Regions from separate parts of the Homo sapiens genome. Here regions 2, 3 and 4 are each linked to region 1. The links are contacts of gene promoters, found by promoter capture Hi-C in human tissues and cell types (Jung and others, 2019). All regions are on one chromosome and are shown on one strand. Each heading gives the region's core, a stretch centred on a gene start or on the middle of the fragment in contact. The rest is flanking DNA. Distances are from core to core; before and after follow the strand shown.

Evidence for each region. Contacts are between HindIII fragments. The study calls those that stand out against the background at their distance.
Region 2: a contact is called between a fragment that was not itself captured here and the fragment with the promoter of DACH1 in region 1, in 1 of the 25 tissues and cell types used here (dorsolateral prefrontal cortex).
Region 3: a contact is called between a fragment that was not itself captured here and the fragment with the promoter of DACH1 in region 1, in 1 of the 25 tissues and cell types used here (dorsolateral prefrontal cortex).
Region 4: a fragment that was not itself captured here is called in contact with the fragment with the promoter of DACH1 in region 1 in 1 of the 25 tissues and cell types used here (spleen).

The regions. Positions count from the first base shown.
Region 1 is chr13:71,865,496-71,868,780 of GRCh38, reverse strand. DACH1 (dachshund family transcription factor 1) reads left to right here and starts at 1,577. Exons shown (of 11, transcript NM_080759.6): 1 at 1,577-2,859. The coding sequence starts at 2,012. The HindIII fragment of the contact is 6,446 bases long and covers 1-3,285 here.
Region 2 is chr13:71,504,587-71,507,871 of GRCh38, reverse strand. All of the region lies in intron 6 of DACH1 (dachshund family transcription factor 1), which reads left to right. Among named protein-coding and RNA genes, the nearest start is that of DACH1, 360 kb to the left of the region's middle. The HindIII fragment of the contact is 3,228 bases long and covers 1-3,164 here.
Region 3 is chr13:72,187,017-72,190,301 of GRCh38, reverse strand. No RefSeq gene overlaps it. Among named protein-coding and RNA genes, the nearest start is that of DACH1, 320 kb to the right of the region's middle. The HindIII fragment of the contact is 3,433 bases long and covers 1-3,254 here.
Region 4 is chr13:71,605,015-71,608,299 of GRCh38, reverse strand. All of the region lies in intron 3 of DACH1 (dachshund family transcription factor 1), which reads left to right. Among named protein-coding and RNA genes, the nearest start is that of DACH1, 260 kb to the left of the region's middle. The HindIII fragment of the contact is 3,324 bases long and covers 141-3,285 here.

The DNA.
Region 1 (3,285 bases), core at 328-2,827:
GTCCATAGTGTCATATTTCTATTTTTCGGTAGACAGTTCCTGCACTATTTGACACTGCGATTCACAGAGTTCAAAGGCTTAAAATGATATAGAGAAATGTGATCATTTCAACACCAGAATGGCAAAAATTTTATTATAAAATTTCCCAACCCTGTGAACCTGCTACTAACAGTTTATTTTAAAAATCTGTCAAATGCTAAAGCATTGCTTCATATCTTATGAACTTACTGAACATGTGTGGACCGGTTCAAAGGCTAACTAATTGAAGATACTTGGAGACATGAGCAGCAAATAGATTTGACCCATATTCAAATGATATGTTAGTCAAAAATCCTTGAATAAATACTTCAGTGCAACAAGTTAGAAAAGAAAAGAAAAGGAAAGAGGAAGGAAAGGAGGAATAGAGTCAGTCTAAACTCAGCCTCATGTTGTTTTAAGCACAGCTACCCAAGTCTTTACAAGTCAACTAGTGAGCTTTGTTTTTGTTCTTCCCATTATTTACAAAACATATATTTACTGACAAATTGAAAAGGACTTTCCAAAACTACAGCAGCACTTTTCAAACATGAAAAAAAAAAAAAAAAAACTATTGTGTTGTCCAAAAAACACATTAGCAATTGGCTTTGGGTCTTAAAGGACATGAGGATAGTTGGTTACTGTGTAAGACAGGTGAATTAATTATAGAGTTTTGGGTAAGAAAACCCTTTTTCCACTTTCTAAATCTTCAAGGATACCTTATCTCCTTGATAGCTCTAGGTTTAACAGGTATTTCTGACTGGCTTTTGGGGAGACAGTGAAGTTATTCTAAATCATCCACATCAAGGCAAGCATTTCTTTCCACAACCTATTAGGAAATATGGAATTGAATACAGAGCTTTCCATTATTCTTAAGCGATTTCGGACTGACTTTCTTCTCACCACTTGAAAACTGTCCTGGAATTTTCACTATCTTTATATAAATAAATAATTTAGTAGAGAAATAAACAATCAGATGCAAAAGAACATTACGCTTTGCTTACATGTGAATTTTCCTCAAAATAATTTCTGAATAATCGTGAAGTGGGGGCTGTGTTTTCGTTTCTAGCTCATTGCCAAAACGCGTGGAGATGGATCCTAAATCCTGGAAGGAGAGAGCTCGGCGCGCTCAGGCTCCTCTTTAAGTTGGCGGGCGATTGTTTAGAAGCTTTGGAAAAAATTACCAGTCCCCGCGGACGAAATGGAATGTGAGACATGCAATCTAACGGTAGTAGTAGAAGAGAAGTAGATGATCTCCCTCTCCTTTTCCGATCGCCACTTCTGTGTCCCCGGCTTTTCCTCTCCGTCCCTCCCACAGTTTCTTTCCGTATCCTCCCCCTCCCCTCCTCCTTTCCTCGCACGCTCCCTCTCCAGTGTCTCGCGCTCTCGGAGTCTCTGCTCCGAGTTCCTGGTTGGATAATTTGGGTTAATACTAGTGAGTGAGGTTTTTGCGGCTTCAAAGGGTATTTCAAGTTTCCGGAGCTCCTCCCCTCTGCACCGTGTGACAACAACAACTCGTCCAGCCGGCAGCCTGCACTTTTCAGCTCATTTTCTCTCTGTCATTCCCCTCTCAATCTTTGATCAATGTACTTGCCAGGGAGAGCCCAAGTCCTTCAAACCTCCTCCTTTTCACCTTCATCCTTAACTTTGTGCTAGAGCGAGACCCACACAACAACAGCCGACCCTCCCCGCCCCACCCCCACCCCCAAACCAGCCCTCGATCCCAGCCCCCGGAGAGGACTCGCATTTCGACTTGCGGGACACTTTTGTGCGTTCCTCTCCAGAGCGCCTCTCGTGCTCGCCCCTCTTGCGCTCGCTCTTTATTACCTTCACCTCCTTTTCTCCCCCTTCTCTCCCTTTCTCCTTCTCGTTCTCTCCCGGAGTTGTTGTTGCCCCCCTCGCTCCTTCTCCCCCCTTTTTTCCCCTTCCCCTCCCGGGGGTGTGTGGCAACTTTTCCTCTCGCTTCTCCTCCGTCTGTTTCCCCTTATATGTGACCATGGCAGTGCCGGCGGCTTTGATCCCTCCGACCCAGCTGGTCCCCCCTCAACCCCCAATCTCCACGTCTGCTTCCTCCTCTGGCACCACCACCTCCACCTCTTCGGCGACTTCGTCTCCGGCTCCTTCCATCGGACCCCCGGCGTCCTCTGGGCCAACTCTGTTCCGCCCGGAGCCCATCGCTTCGGCGGCGGCGGCGGCGGCCACAGTCACCTCTACCGGCGGCGGCGGCGGCGGCGGCGGCAGCGGAGGCGGCGGCGGCAGCAGCGGCAACGGAGGCGGCGGTGGCGGCGGCGGCGGTGGCAGCAACTGCAACCCCAACCTGGCGGCCGCGAGCAACGGCAGCGGCGGCGGCGGCGGCGGCATCAGCGCTGGCGGCGGCGTCGCTTCCAGCACCCCCATCAACGCCAGCACCGGCAGCAGCAGCAGCAGCAGTAGCAGCAGCAGCAGCAGCAGCAGTAGTAGCAGCAGCAGCAGTAGCAGCAGCAGCTGCGGCCCCCTCCCCGGGAAACCCGTGTACTCAACCCCGTCCCCAGTGGAAAACACCCCTCAGAATAATGAGTGCAAAATGGTGGATCTGAGGGGGGCCAAAGTGGCTTCCTTCACGGTGGAGGGCTGCGAGCTGATCTGCCTGCCCCAGGCTTTCGACCTGTTCCTGAAGCACTTGGTGGGGGGCTTGCATACGGTCTACACCAAGCTGAAGCGGCTGGAGATCACGCCGGTGGTGTGCAATGTGGAACAAGTTCGCATCCTGAGGGGACTGGGCGCCATCCAGCCAGGAGTGAACCGCTGCAAACTCATCTCCAGGAAGGACTTCGAGACCCTCTACAATGACTGCACCAACGCAAGGTGAGTCGGGGGGGATAGCCCCCGCCGCCCGCGCCCCTTCCCACCAGCCTGCTCGCCTGCCCTCGCTCCTTTCCCGGCGCCGCTCGCTCTGCGCGCCCGCGAGCCGCGCGCCCCGGCGAGCGCGGCCCTCTCCTCTCCCTGCTCGGGGCTCGCCAGCCGCGCCCGACCCCCTGAGAAGTTGGCACCTCACCCTGCCCAGACCTCGCTCTTCGGCCCGGTCCTCCCCTTGCCCTCTGGGTCCCGGGGATGGGCTGCTGTGGGATGTGGGAAAGCCGAGCCTCGGGGCGGAGGGGACGAGAGGGAGGAGGACGGCGCCTTTGCTGGAGCCACAGCCCCCTGCCCCGGGCGCGCGGGCGCCTGGAGACCCCTCTCAGCGCTGCTGTCCGCGTTCGTGCGCTCCCCAGGACCTGGGTTCCACGGCCAGCC
Region 2 (3,285 bases), core at 301-2,800, 360 kb after region 1:
TATTAACATTGGCAGGACTAAGCCTAAAGTGGAGGTTCAGTTTAGAAATTTGATAATAGGTTGAGATAATAAATTATATACATTTCCAAAAGTTATGTATTATCTCCATATATTAAAACCTTAGCCATGCTGTAAGAATTGTGTCCTGATTATCTTTCATTCTGGAATTATAATTGTTCTCTTCCAGGTAGTCAGTCCAAGGATGGACTAGATGTCCTCACTTGCCGTGACAGTTCCTCTGTCTTATCTTTGTTAGAGTATTTTCTATACAGTGTTGCATTTGGCATTCATCCATAAATATTTCTAGAGTGACTAGTTTCAAATTTGTCTAATTTTCCAGCTGAACTAATTGGCAAAATAAAATGTATTCATATTTCAAGGTTAATTGCATTTCATAAAAAGTTCCTGATTAAATTTATGATTAAATTTAACAATTGTAAAAATAGTTTTGTTAGTGAAGGAAATAACAACTTTCTTAAAAGTATCATGAGATTTTTGAAGTTATTGTTATAGGAGGCACTATATTAAAATTCTCTGTGGAGAATTTCTATGCTAAAAAACAAAGTTGGGGAATAGATTTTAGAATACATTATAAGATAAACAACAGAGAATACTATATTTATGAGGATTCCCAGCTTAAAGGAAGAAACACTAATATGAATGATCTCCTGTCACTACTGCATGGATAGATCGGGGATGTATAAGAATCTTAAGATGAGTAGGTTGCAAAAATTTTCTCCCATTTTGTAGGTTGCCTGTTCACTCTGATGGTAGTTTCTTTTGCTGTGCAGAAGCTCTTTAGTTTAATTAGATCCCATTTGTCAATTTTGTCTTTTGTTGCCATTGCTTTTGGTGTTTTAGACATGAAGTCCTTGCCCATGCCTATGTCCTGAATGGTAATGCCTAGGTTTTCTTCTAGGGTTTTTATGGTTTTAGGTCTAACGTTTAAGTCTTTAATCCATCTTGAATTCATTTTTGTATAAGGTGTAAGGAAGGGATCCAGTTTCAGCTTTCTACATATGGCTAGCCAGTTTTCCCAGCACCATTTATTAAATAGGGAATCCTTTCCCCATTGCTTGTTTTTCTCAGGTTTATCAAAGATCAGATAGTTGTAGATATGTGGCATTATTTCTGAGGGCTCTGTTCTGTTCCATTGATCAATATCTCTGTTTTGGTACCAGTACCATGCTGCTTTGGTTACTGTAGCCTTGTAGTATAGTTTGAAGTCAGGTAGTGTGATGCCTCCAGCTTTGTTCTTTTGGCTTAGGATTGACTTGGCGATGCGGGCTCTTTTTTGGTTCCATATGAACTTGGAACCAACCCAAATGTCCAACAATGATAGACTGGATTAAGAAAGTGTGGCACATATATACCATGGAATACTATGCAGCCATAAAAAATGATGAGTTCATGTCCTTTGTAGGGACATGGATGAAATTGGAAATCATCATTCTCAGTAAACTATCGCAAGAACAAAAAACCAAACACCGCATATTCTCACTCATAGGTGGGAATTGAACAATGAGATCACATGGACACAGGAAGGGGAATATCACACTCTGGGGACTGTTGTGGGGCGGGGGGAGGGGGGAGGGATAGCACCGGGAGATATACCTAATGCTAGATGACGAGTTAGTGGGTTCAGCACACCAGCATGGCACATGTATACATATGTAACTAACCTGCACAATGTGCACATGTACCCTAAAACTTAAAGTATAATAAAAAAAAAAAGAATCTTAAGAGCTTTATGTGAGTTTTGAAAATGCATGTAAATGTAATATTTTTATTTATTTCATTTTAGTTGTATTTATTTAAATTTTTCTAATGTAGAATAACATTAAATAACAGTATAGTTTTTAATCTATATCAAGAGGATGAAGGAACAAAATCTGCATGTTTTGTTTGCTTATTCAAATGTGAAATGCTTTCTAATCAAGTTGAATATTTTAATTATTTTTAAATTTTTAGTCAATATTAAGTCATTTATGGAAATTGCCTTTCAGTCTGTATGCCACTTATAATTTGTTAATCTTAGGTATATAGGCTAAAGTGGAAAGTACTAGAATATAGAAAGTAATAGTAAAACTTTCAGTTTCTACCTGGTTTTTTCATTCTTATGAAATCTTAGTATATGAGAAGGAATAAGTAATGAAAGATAACTTATTATCTAACAAAATAAACTTATTTATTTGCCTAAAGCTTCTGGTGATATTTAAGGTAAATTAATAATTGAAACAGAACAGAACAGTTATTGGATTTACTAAATATGGAAGAGTTCTACATATGATATACCTATATGTACCTATGTACTTATGTAACTAAGTGTATGTGTGGTGTGCAATCATTTAGGTATACACACACAAACACACACACACACAGAATCTGCTTTACTTTGAAATTGCTTCAACAGTAGACTTATATGGTTATTTTATCTATAGTAATATAATGTATCTCAAGCCTTCTAAATATACTATTAAGAAAATTTTTAGGCTGGGCGCAGTGGCTTACGCCTGTAATCCCAGTACTTTGGGAGGCCGAGGTGGGTGGATCATGAGGCCAGGAGATTGAGACCATCCTGGACGACATGAGGAAACCCTGTCTCTACTAAAATACAAAAAAGTAGCCGGGCGTGGTGGCACACACCTGTAATTCCAGCTACTTGGGACACTGAGGCTGAGGAATCACCTGAACTTCGGAGCCGGACGTTGCAGTGAACCGAGATCTTGCCACTGCACTCCAGCCTGGCGACAGAGTAAGACTCCAGAAAGAAAGAAAGAAGGAAGGAAGGAAGGAAGGAGATATCTAATTAACAAATATATGTGTTTCTAAATTTGCGATTTCTCAGTAAGTTAAAACTGAGTTAAGTGTACACAAATAGTCGAAGAGATTAATTGATTTCATTGTGAAATATTTTTAAATAATGTATTGATTCATCCTACATGTAAAAGCCAGGCACCATTCAAGGTATAGGAGACACAACAGCTCACAGTACAGAGAGACATCTTGTTCTTAAGGAATTTGTATTGTAATTGAAGAAGACAAACAATAAGGAAATATATAGAAAAATATCAAGTAGTAATAATGGTAGCTTGATATACATTGAACATGCCATCGAAATAAAAAGTCACTGGTTACATAAGAATGAAATGGTTCTATATTCTCATGATACATCCATGATTAGGAAGAGTTGCCATTTCTGTAAGATCATGACCAACCTTCTCCTGAACATTCTGAGCTACAACTTGATGATCAGGTCTGCAAGACTTCACTCAAATCTGGCCT
Region 3 (3,285 bases), core at 289-2,788, 320 kb before region 1:
TCAACCTCACTAGAATCCTTTTTTCAATAGGAATACAGTGTGTTCCTATTTATTGTTATTTCTTTTATCCTACACCGAATAAGCCAGGATTATCAAGTCAGAAAAAAAAAGCTGCCCTAGATTAAATACTACGAGAGGATGGACAGGTTTTATGATTCTTGTCACCATAGTGAGAGCCTGATTTCCCCAACACCCTTATACATGAATTCATGTTTGCATATGTCATTGAAGATCCCCATATTGTTTTTAGGGTCCCTCGATTTGCACTCAATACTTCTGACTTCAAAGTCAGAATTAATGCTGAGTTTAAACAATTTTAATAGAGCTATTATCATTTGTATATTATGGCTACATTAAATGATCCCATATGTTAATGTATACTACTCATTATTTTTAAGGAAAATATTTGGCAAAAATAAAGGAATGAAATAATTTATTTTATATTAACAGTTTGTATCTTTAGTTTACATTTGTTGCAATATGTATAAAAGCTGGAAAGGGAAGACTGACAAAAATCTCTGTGGGGACAGGAAATACAGAAGAACTTGTGACTTCAGTTTGTTTTGAGAGAGGGTCCATATCTTCTGTTTCAGTCTCAGTTTCCTGTTTTTGCTCCATTTAGCTATGTTCCTACATTTTTTTCCTCCACTCCATTTCTGGTGTCTCTTTCCCCAATTCGAGGGGAAGCCCTGGTTTTCCACCACCCATTCTGCTCCTGATTTTGAACAGGGCGTCTCATCTGCCTACAAATCTGAGTGAATTAACCATGGTCTGTTCCTCCCAGATCAGTGAGCCCCTCAATCTTTTTTTTTTTTTTTTTTGAGATAGGGTCTCACTGTGTTGCCCAGGCTGGAGTGCAGTGGCGTGATGATGGCTAACTTCAGCCTCAACCTCCTGGGCTCAAGCGATCCTCCCACCTCAGCCCCTGGAGTAGCAGGGACTGTAGGTACATGCCTCCAAACCCAGCTAATTTTTGGATTGTTTTTGTAGATTTGGGGTTTTAGCATGTTGGCCAGGCTGGTCTCGAACTCCTGTGTTCAAGCTATCCACCCACCTTGGCCTCCCAAAGTGCTGGGATTACAGTTATGAGCCACTGTGTTGGGCTAAGTCCCTCAATCTTAACTGCCTCATATTTCACTACGCTTCCATAACCTCTATGAACCTAGAGTTGTGATGACTGGCCCCTTTCTGGGGATGGCTTTCCCTGGTGGCTGACTCTGTAAGCTTTCTTTTCTCTTCCTTCTTTCCAAGAGTCTGTCCTTTCTCACATCCACAAGCCACATTTCTGAGAACTGACATTATTGAGGAAGTCGGGGAATCTCTGAATGGGAGAAAAATAATAAAATACAGACTTAAGACAGATATGTGAAAATCAGCTGAAAATAATTAGGATCTTTTACTCAGTGGAACAGGAGGACCAAAGAATTTGAGAAGTTTGGTGTGATCTTCAGAAGGCATGCAGAGTAAACACGTAGGGTTATAGAAATATTTAAGAAAAGGGTCAATTTGTCAAACTACAGGCAAGGGTAATGACTGTAGTGTTTGCAGTTATATTAGAAATGATTTCTTTACTGACATATATTTTTAATAAGGAATATTTTAAAGGTAACATTTTTAGATCTACTTTTACCTCTTATGATGCTTACTTTTCCTCCCTTACAATATCTACGATCGGGGAAATTCCATAAACAAAGCATGCTTTTTTCTTACTAGGTCAAAACGAAGTGTTACACTAGCCTCTTAATAAATGTCAATTACCGTCCCTTCTCCCTGAGCCTGGTATTATGCTAATAACATTCTCCTGAATATTCATAGACTCAAAAATGTTTGATCAGGAGAGGAAGTTAGAGATGCCCTCACCCGATTCTCTCTAATAATGATGAAGACACTGTGGCTCAGAGACTGGAGGTGGCTTGCCCAAGGTTGCCCAGCAAGTTAACAATACTGTCAAGACCAGGAGCGATGTTTTGGTGTAAAGAAGCAGCACAAATAAAGGCTCTGACTTAAGGAGATGACATTTTCCAGGAAGCAAGAAGAAATGTTGTTTCTAGGCCATAGAGTTAGGTAGGTGCCAGACCATGCAGGGTCTTAAAGGCCATAGCAGGGATTTAGAGAGTAATGAGAGACTTTAGATGTACAAAGATGGATGGTGACATTACACTGGCATTTTGAGAAAATGCATTTCTAAAATATTTTCATTTAGTAATAAGATTCTCTACTTCTCATATATCCTTACTCTCAATTTAGGATATAATGCTGCTTTCCAATCAGATTGCTTTTTACCCTCATCTTGATGACAATTTCTCCCCCTTATATGTCTTCCATAACTTCTGTGAGGCCCCCAGGCCAGAACACTCTGCTTCTAGGCTGTCTTCGGTGTAAATTTCAAGCAGAGGTAACCCAGCTTTTCTATTCCTCAGGTTTTTCTGTCTGTTCCCATTTTTTGATTGACTATACTTCATTTCAGAATTTTTGTTAGGCTTTACTAGTCCTTAGACCTTTTCCAGGGATGGATAAAACTTCTAATACCTTCATTAAATCAGACCTTGGAATCTCAACTGCCCCCTAAATATATTTCCCAAATAAAAAGGTGGAGGAAAACTTTGTCTATTAATGTGGAATTTTATTGTCGAATCTTTGCTTTCTGTAAACATTTGGCCTATTGCTATATCATGATATTTGCATATTTAACAACAAGGCATTTATAGCACTTATTTTTTTGTCTTATGTTCTAGACACTGTCTTCAACTGCTACCCCTTGAGGTCCAAGATTGTATTATTTTAAATATCACGTAATACTATGATTACAGAAGGCAGATAGCACTTACTGAATAGTTGCCATATAACAGACACTGTGCTATGAAATTTTCTCATCAGACTGAGTTGAGACAAACTGGGAGTGAGAGTATAGACTTTGACAAAATGCATGAGCTTGTGACCCTCCTACGTATCTCTTTAAGTAACTAAGTGTACAAGGACACGTGGACTTTTATATTTTGGCTGAAGACAGAAGGACAGAGTTAGTAGGAAGACAGGAAGCGAGAAGGAGGAAATGGACAATGTGTGAGGAAGGCTTGGCATCTGTCCTCTGCTAGCTGGAGAAACAGGTTTTGTGGGTCAGAGAAGAGATGGTTTAGAACCAATAAGTGAAGAAGCAATGTTTATGGGGGAAGTTTTGTTCTTGGTAAGGAACAAAAAAAAGCCTGTTTCAGAGGCACACATAACAAAGTATGGGCCCAAACTGAGAAGAAAACAATTTACTTCCCAACTCTATCACAAACCATA
Region 4 (3,285 bases), core at 553-3,052, 260 kb after region 1:
TTTTAATGTGTATTAGTCTTTTGTAAGTGGATTTGTTTATATGTATGCTGGATGTTATTATTACCCACATGGTTTAAATCTATATCCATGATAATATACATACTGTTCAGAAAAAGTATTTTTCTGATGTGTATATAAAAATGTTTTGCAAGAGATTCACTTGCAAATTCAGCATTATCTCTCTTAAGGATAAATTCATGAGGATGTGTATCTTACCCATTTTATATATATATATATATACACATTGTAATCTCTATTACTAATATGCCTAATTCATAATCTACATCTTTCTCATTAATATGGAAATTGTTACAGAGTATCATGATTGTGAATTAATACATATCACTTAAGCGTTCTGGGCATCAGTATCTTCATTCCTAAACTGAGGGAATAAATGCAGTAACTTTCAAAATTTCTCATTGTTTAAAAACTTTTATTTTTTATGACACTGTTCCTTTGAAACTGATACAGCTGACAGGCAGTCTGAATTTTGTTGGTATCTTTCAATTTATCACGTTTTAAACACTCCACAAAGTCCCAGCCCAGAAACAGGAACATGTGTGCTGTTGCTCATGATAATCTTTGTATATGCTCAGTGAAATAAGTTTACCATAACTTAGTAGTCACTTTCATCCAGAGAATTTTTCCTGGTGGTATTAAAACACAAAGACTACTATCACACTGGTCTTTAAGGGGAAACAATAAATAAAACACAAATAAACAAGCTCCTAAGAGACAATTCTTATTCACATTTGCTGATGATTAGAGGTACACTTGGCTTTGAAAGTCATGCCCATTTAACACAGTATTTTTAAAAGACTTACTTTTTTCCATGTAACAGCGATATCAGAAATGCATTTCCTTGAGTTACTTTGAAAAAAAATTTTAGAATTGTTACATGGCTTAGTACCTGTACAATCTAACTGTCTTTATTGAGATCATAGCATATAAGGTAGAATGTTTTATACAAAACAATAATAAGCCTGTATACATGAATTTAAAACAGGAATTTTTAAATATCAAATAGAAGAAATGCAACGTAAGGATTAAATTATCATATTGTAAAAAGTTATGCAGGTGAACACCTTGTTATTACAAATATAAAATGTAGCCTGAATAAATCTATGAAAAGCTCTTTTTTAAAGTGCAATTATATCCTGTAATGTGTAGTTTTTCCTGTCCCTTATGTTTATTTTAATTTTAATATGAAAGAAATGATCATCCCATTTTCTTTGAAAGTGGAATAAAGGTAAAACCACAAACCTTTTGAAAGAATTCCTTTGTTCCCAATCACATGAGTGTTGTTGGAACAAAATTTTGCCACCTGCCAGAGGCTTTAAAAACTAAATCAAAAGGCTCACTACTTCAAAATGCTCAAACTAAAGGTAGGCTTCTGGATGAAAATGTAATGACTAGATCATTCTCATCATACATTTATTACAGTGCAGCAGAATTGATGGATCTTTTGCTACCTTTCACTAGAGAATAATTCATAAATGAAAATGAAAATATTTAAATCATGAATAGCTATTTTATTCCCTCATTCTACCTGTTAGGGATCTAACATTTAGGGTGTCTCACTATGTTCATATTAAAACTTCCCAAAAGAAATAGAGAGGAAAAAGGTGAAGTATTTCTCACACTAGTTAAAACAATTCAGTGTTGGCATGCTTCATTAACTGTTTGCATACAAGAGAAAAGTGCTTTCTGATGAAGTGGAAAACCAACTTGGGACCAATTTTCCACAACATAAATTCAACACTCATTCTACCTCCTGATACCTTTGTATTCAAACTATCAGGAAGATTTTTTATATCTGTCATACCAGTAATCATTTAATACTTCTATTTTAGATTCTGAAATCCTTGAAAATAGTTCTATTGTAGATTCTTTATTTCCTTAGAATAATTTTAAGATGAACATCTACTAATATTTTTTCATAAATGTGAATTCATTGAACTGACAGTTATCAAACTGATTTAGAAAGAATTCTTATCATGTAAGAAACATAATAAACAGGGTGTTAAAATGGACAGCTTAAACAAAATATTGTTTACATTCAATTTTATTCTGTTTCTCCTCTCTATATAAAATATTTGTAAATAGATGTAGATGTGTGTATACATTCAATATATAGTTAAGCAGCATAATGAAGGTGATGTATTAAACATTACTGCAAGTCTAGAATATCATTTATTACAGTACTAGCAGAAAAATAGTACTCTAGTAGATTAGCAGAAAAAGTGAGTGCCAATTTGAAACACCATTGTTGATCACTGTATCACAACAGTGTAGCTTCAGTGAGATAGGTGAGTCACTCTGCCAGTTCAACACATGATAGCTGCAAAGTGCCACCAAACACAATGAAGTCATCCACAGTCCCTACTGAGTCTAAGTTATTATTCAGTTTATTACATAGCGTTTTGTCTTCATCAGCAATGTTCAACAATCACTTTCAATTACACGGGGTGAGAATCTGGGAGACTGTCTTCACTTCTCTGTGGTTGTAAATTCATATTTTCTAGACTCTGCATGGGGAAAGAAAAAGGACATTATAATATTTTTATTTTCATAATAAAAGTAAGACTTATTGAAGAGGAAGAATCTTTCATTTTTCACAATATCATAAAATATTTCTCTTTTAATGAATTGCTGTGAGCCAATGTTTTTGTTGAAAACATTCTTTGATAAAAGCTTAAAAATGATATAAGCATACATGTTTTATTATATGAAAAGTAATCAATTATAAATATTCACACTGTGAAGCATTATTTTATCACATTTAGTATATTCATTCATTATGTTATTTAAATTTTATTTCATTAAAACTTGGTATATTATTCACACTAAACCAAGTGATCTTATTGTGATTTCATAAATAGAAGTTTGTCATACTCGAACATATCTTTTGATATTAAAAATAACATCATGTTATTTCATTTGTTTCTTTCAAATATAATATCATATTACAATACATTAGTTGTATCGTTCAAGCTAAGAATATATTCCCGATATGAAGAATATGTTGAGTAGTGTAAGTTTAATATTTAAAAAATGTAATTATTGATTCAGTGAACTAAATATATTAAACATGTAAAACATTAGATTCTTTTAGTATACAGGCATAGTCATCTTTATGGATTTTTCCTGAAATGTTTTATGTAAATCAAGAGTTTTATCTAATCAAGCTTTAAGGGAATCCACTACTTAGAAAATATTTTAATATAATGCATTTTCTTAAAGTGAACTGCATCTATAGTGATTTTGAAATTCAAGCCATTTTGC